2 separate regions of the Homo sapiens genome follow, and region 1 is linked to region 2. Evidence: promoter capture Hi-C in 16 types of primary human blood cells and fetal thymus (Javierre and others, 2016). All regions are on one chromosome and are shown on one strand. The core of a region is centred on a gene start or on the middle of the fragment in contact, and the rest is flanking DNA. Distances in the headings are between cores, read along the strand shown.

Evidence for each region. Contacts are between HindIII fragments. The CHiCAGO score rates a contact against its expected background, and 5 or more counts as called.
Region 1: a contact is called between a fragment that was not itself captured here and the fragment with the promoter of WNT5A in region 2, in 2 of 17 cell types (M2 macrophages and M1 macrophages). The highest score is 5.2, in M2 macrophages.

What each region holds. Positions count from the first base shown.
Region 1 is chr3:55,750,762-55,753,461 of GRCh38, forward strand. All of the region lies in intron 14 of ERC2 (ELKS/RAB6-interacting/CAST family member 2), which reads right to left. Among named protein-coding and RNA genes, the nearest start is that of ERC2-IT1, 93 kb to the left of the region's middle. The HindIII fragment of the contact is 4,718 bases long and covers 1-2,700 here.
Region 2 is chr3:55,485,993-55,488,963 of GRCh38, forward strand. It overlaps WNT5A (Wnt family member 5A), which reads right to left and starts at 1,314. Exons shown (of 5, transcript NM_003392.7): 1 at 988-1,314. The coding sequence starts at 993. It overlaps WNT5A-AS1 (WNT5A antisense RNA 1), which reads left to right and starts at 1,626. Exons shown (of 2, transcript NR_046656.1): 1 at 1,626-1,887; 2 at 1,998-2,316. RefSeq lists an enhancer at 2,938-2,971. The HindIII fragment of the contact is 5,010 bases long and covers 1-2,971 here.

The DNA of each region.
Region 1 (2,700 bases), core at 128-2,627, 260 kb after region 2:
AAAGAATGCCTTAAGTGCCAACGGAAAGACTGGTTTGGCCAGTGCTGACGTTTTCACGCATGCCCGCATGCACACATGAGGATGTAGGAACATTATGTGTAAGTTGTTTTCTGGGGAACAGCAGCTTTTTATTGTGACATTCAGTAATGTCCTTTCTAATGTTTGGAATTAAAATGACCCTTTCTCAAATGATGATGATAATAGTTAACACTTGAATAGTCTTATTTAATAGCTTAATTAGGTTAGCAAGCATATGTTGTTGGCAAAAAATATTTTTTCCTATGATTGGTCCATGACTTCCACGGTCTGGAAAACATTCACGTGATTGCTGCATGTTACTATCAGGGTATGTGTGAGGAACATCCTCTTCTGTTCTGCATAGGTAAGGGCTTTCCTTGTGAAAAGTGTTTGGCACTTCCAAGCTGGCTGCCTTATAAATGCCATGTTGAACCCAAATTGTTTGTACTGAGTGACCGTCCCTTTGCCAATGTCTGTTTCCAATATGGTATCTTTAGGATATAAGTGGAGAATAATCTCTTTATTTCACAAATAGGCCCCATCAGACAAGAGCTCGAGCTCCAGGTCCTTCTAGGGGTCTTCAGTGACCACAGAAGGAAAGAAAAGCTGAGTTGGTCAATGCCAATCTTTAGGAAAATTATTTCTAAAGGTGGCAAGAAGGGCCTAGTGTAAAATATGACATACTCTGCCTCTCTTTCGTTTGTTCATTTTGTTGGATTTTAGCACAATATGTATATATATATTGGTGGAATATGAATGTGGGAGTAATCAGCAACAGAGAAGACTTGGGAACATGGTAGTTATCCCTTCAATTATCTGCTAGAGTAACATAGATGAGGCTTGCTCCAGGGGCACCCTAAGATTTGAACTAGGACTTAAGGATGAAAGTCACAAGTAGGTAAGGCTGAGGCCAAGTTAGTAACAGGAGCAACTCTGGCTAAGTCAGAGCTGTCAGCAATGGCCTGGGCTCCCTCATACCCATCTCTGACAGTGTTGGTACAAACAACAGAAGGCAATGTCGAGAAAATCCCAGGGAAATAATTCTAACAATGGAGGAATGATGTGACTAAACACATGCTTTGGTTGGGTTTATTTGGATTGCAAGCAAAAGAAACTAATTCTGGCTAACTTAGCAAAAAGAGGAAGTGTTAGAGGGATACTTGAATAAACTGAGGAAAAGAAAAGAGCTAACAAGTGAGCTTTAGGAGGGTCAGTGAGAAAGTTGCTCCAGTACCCTCAGTAGCAGGAAATCCTAAACCTTTCTTCAGAAGACCTACTGTTTACAGAATAACTTTGTTACAACCTCCAGGCTTAATGGAAAAAGAGTAATGTTTGACCTTCCTGGAAAGAAAATCTGTTAGCCCCACCTAGGTCAATCAGTTATGGCCTGATTTCCCCATCACTAGAAACACACCCTAAATAATGGGATCACACCAAAAGAAAAAGGGACAGCTATGAGCTGAGGGTCATCCTAATTGGCAGCTCTCTAATGATCTTACAGCTAAGGGGTCTATTTCTATGGTGTGCTGGAGCTGGCTGCTAGCTAGCGAGAGTCAATTATGTGCATCTCCTTCCAACTGACAAGGGTCAGCCTGTACCTTGGCCATGGTAGAAGTATTTACACGATGGAAATTGGCAATCACTACCAATCAGGGATTTTGTTTTTTCTATTGACCTGGTTTACCAGCGCTCTATTGGCCTGTTTCAAGATAATTGAACAGTTTTGCCAAGACTGCTGAACAAGGGACAGGCCATAGAGCCTACAATAGGAAATACATAGCTAACACACACCAGCACATTTTCTGTGCCAAAGACTATACCATTCTAAGTCCTTTATGTGTACTAACTCATTTGAGCTGCACAACAATCTAATGAGGAAGGTGCCATTATGTTCCCATTTGACAGATAAGAAAAGAGAGGCAGAAAGGAGTGAATTAACTTACTCAAGTTTACATGGCTAGTAGATGGCAAAGTAGAGATTCGAACCCGGGTATTTATAATTTTATGTCTCAAAATAAAATAGATTATGTCTAGCATTGTTCTAAGTTGAGATACTCTTGACACAGAAAAAACAGATTCACTTTGAATCAAGTGAGAAGTTGGCTGAATTCCGATAAGAGGACCACCCCCTCAGTCACAATGCTGCCGTCAGTAAGAGCAGCCGACCGCAGCTCTACAACTGGTGCTCGGATGTTTATTTCATTTGATTGTATATTTATTTCATTTCTAGGGATGCCCAAGGACTGAAGCCAAATCACAAAGTTGCTAACCAAGTCCATGGGGAAGAGAGAGACTCACAATGCACACTGCTGGAACTCCCCAAGTGGGTGACAGCAATACTTCAGAACTCGGTGGGCAGAGCAGATCACATGGTTGCTCCTGGATGGGCTGTGATTTCTCAATTCCAGTGAGAAAGGGGAGAGAAGTCTGAACCTTCAACATACTTCCCCCCAATCCCACTGCCAATACTATAAGGCATAGAAAACAGAAAACAGGGGTAACATAGAAAGACAGTCATCCAATTTTATATATGTGCCTTTGACAAGTCACTTGACTTTACGTATCTTAGCTGTGGGAATCTATAAAATAAAAATGATATTACCTACCCCCGAGGTCACTAAGAGGTTCACAGAAGATCCCCCACAGGAAAGCATCTGGAAAACTGCAAAACCCCACAGGAAT
Region 2 (2,971 bases), core at 64-2,563:
GACAGATAAGAAAAATTGTTTAGAAAATAAAAACTTATGTTGCAGGAAGAAACGTTAACTTTTCGTAAAAGTGAACTCTCAGTGACCCTCGGAGTGTGTGATTCGGCTTTAACATACAACTGACAATTAAAACAAACAAGAGTTCGCAAACTGGCCCCCGCCTGCTCTCCCAAAGCGGAGGCCCAAGTGTTTTCTAAAGGACAAGGCGGACTCCGCTCAGGGGGCCGGGGAGCGCTGTCCCGGAGTACGGGATTACAGCCACTACCACCACAACTCCCCGCCCCCACCACTGCTGCAAAGTGCCTGAGCTCACCCAGTGGCGGCTAATAATGCTAATAACGCGACCCCGCTCCCCGCGCCGGGGTGCGCGCTGGCCCCCCGCCAGGCACTCTTAAAGGCAAAGGGGCCTGAAGCGCTCGAGTTACTCGGCCAAGGCAAGCCTACAATCTGGCCTCCGTCGGTGCGGGGGGGTGTCGGGGAAGGTGTACGCCGCTCTGGAGTAGTTGGCCCCTAGTTCCTCTGCGGGTTCTCTCAACCAAGGAGTCCCTTTCCCCATCCCGAGCCCCGGCCACACACCGTCCCGGTGCCCGCGCAGTGGGCGCTTGGTAAATATTTGTTGAATTGAATCATTATCCTGTTACTGAAATATACATAGTAAATTACACTCGATGTTCTCAGAGCAAAAGGAAAGTCGTCAGTGAACCGCACTCAGTTTGTCTACTATCGCTCTTCCCCACTTTTTCTCAAAAATCAAAATTGTTTGCAGAACGGGTGGTGCGACCAGAAGTGATCTCCTGGGACACTGAGGCAGTGCGCCCGGCGTGGAGGGCGAAGGGGTAGGGGTTCCTGCCAGCGACGCTGGAGTTCCAGCTTCTTCAGGCGGTTGGGGAAATGGAGGGATAGGAAGAGGCGAAGGGAACTCAGTTAACTTCCAACAGGGGGTGGGGGGAAGTAAAGAAAAAAAGTGGCAGCGCACTGAACACCTACCTTCATGGCGAGGGGGAGGGGGCGCGGGGAGGAAGTCGCCACCCGAGCGAGCGCAGCCGAGGAATCCGAGCGGAGCGACCGGGTTAAGCCTGGGGGGACGGTCAGGAGCAGGGCTGCGGAGTCCTCCGGCGCGCGTCCGGCGGGCGCAGTGAACCGGAGCTGAAGCGGGCACTGGCGCCCGGGCCTGGACTCCCGAGTTGGGGCAGAGCTGGGATGCGCCCAGGAATGGAGGGGGCGCGGACGCGCGCGAGCCGGCAGCAAGGGCAGGGCCTGGTCGGGGCGCAACTAGGGAGCCGCCGGTCCGGCGAGGGCGCGCAGGCAACTGTTCCACGGAGAGGCGCTCCGTTTCCAACGTCCATCAGCGACGGCGGTAATTAGGGCTTTCCAACCCCAAATGTGGGCGTGATTGTGCAAAAGACCTTACGACAAATAATAATAAAAAGAAATTCTTCACAAGAGGGTGAAAAAAATGTACCACTACTCAACTGTGGCCCGGGGCGGGGGAAGGGGGGCGATCTGTGCGCCCAGGTGCCCCCAGTTCATTCACACCACAGATTCTGCAAACTCTTGGCGGCTCACGCCTCCTGATCTCCAGCTCCTCCTCTCTGGGTCTGTAGCCGAAACGTCTGCTTCCAGACGCTGATCCTGCAGCCGCGAGTTAGTGTGGACGTCTCTGTACACACACAGACACACACCCCAACACACACACCCCCGCTGCAGCTTTGGGGCCACAGAACAATCAGGCGCGCATGGCTTTTTCTCCGGGAGATGCCGCTGAAAACGCACAAGTCGCCATCTGAGCTGCAAGAGTCAGCCCCAAATTGTGTCCTTTCATTTTAGGGTTCGGCAAAAACGGGGAGCAAAATAGGTGAAAGTCGCCCCGGAACTTATTGCTGTGCGGTGAGCTGGAGGGGTGCGACTAACCCAGGGGAGACGCGGGCTCCCCCCCCCCACCACGTATCCCGTTCTTTCTCTCTTCGGGTTGATCTCTCTTTTCCCCGTTTTTCCAGGGCGAAGGGCGAAGAGCAGCGAGTGCACCGCGGGCGCGAGGCTGGGGAAGGGCGAGAGCTCGGAGCTCCGCGGCGGCGACTCAGCTCCGGCGGTCCATGGCCGGCGAAGCTGCCCACCTCCTCGTTTGGCGCCCGGGTCCGAGGGGCGGGAGAGCGGGCCGGCGGGAGGCGGGCGGTCCCGGGCACAACGGCGGCGGCGGAAGGGCTCGCTGGGCAGCTGCCGCACGGACCCCGGCTCTGGGCGGCGGAGGCGGCTCCGTGGAGCTCGCAGCAGATTTCCACGCGATCCTGTGCCCCGCAAACAGACTGACCGACCGCGGGGACGCGTCCCCCCCTCCCACCCCCCAGCCCTTCTGGCCAACTGCCTTACTCTCTCCCTCCCTCTCTCCAGACTCCTCTTTCCCCTGGTGTTCTCAGAAGGAAGAAAAAAAAAAAAAGAAAGAAAGAAAGAAAGAAAAAAGTTCTTTAAAGTTTCAGAACTAGGGGCGGCTGGAAAGAGAGAGGGAAGGGGGGGGAAGAAAGAAAAAACTCAACTTTGCTATGCGCATGCGTGGTGAGGCCGGCCTATGACAAACTCTGCAGGATTTTAAAGCCGTACTACGGGCTGGGGTGCCGGGAGGCGGGGTACACTCTCCTTGTCTCCCCTTCTCTAAGTTCCCCATCCCCCGCGGCATCTGCTGAAAGAGAGAGGTCCACTCCGCAGCCGCTGCCTGCCTGCCGCCTGGTTGTCTGCGCTCCTTCCAGAGCCACCGACCGGCGGGAGGCTGAACCCCAACTTCCCCGCCTGGACCCCTTGGCTCGCCCGCGTATCCCAGACCGCTCCCACTGGGGCTCCACGGAGACTGCTGCCTTGACATGGAACCTCATGGGGGACCTCCTCATTCTTACCTCTGGGGGAGGATACTTAAGCACTGGGGCTGATGGATAGGGTTAGGCGCTCACCTCCTGCAAAGTCCCCAGAGTAGTAGGGACTT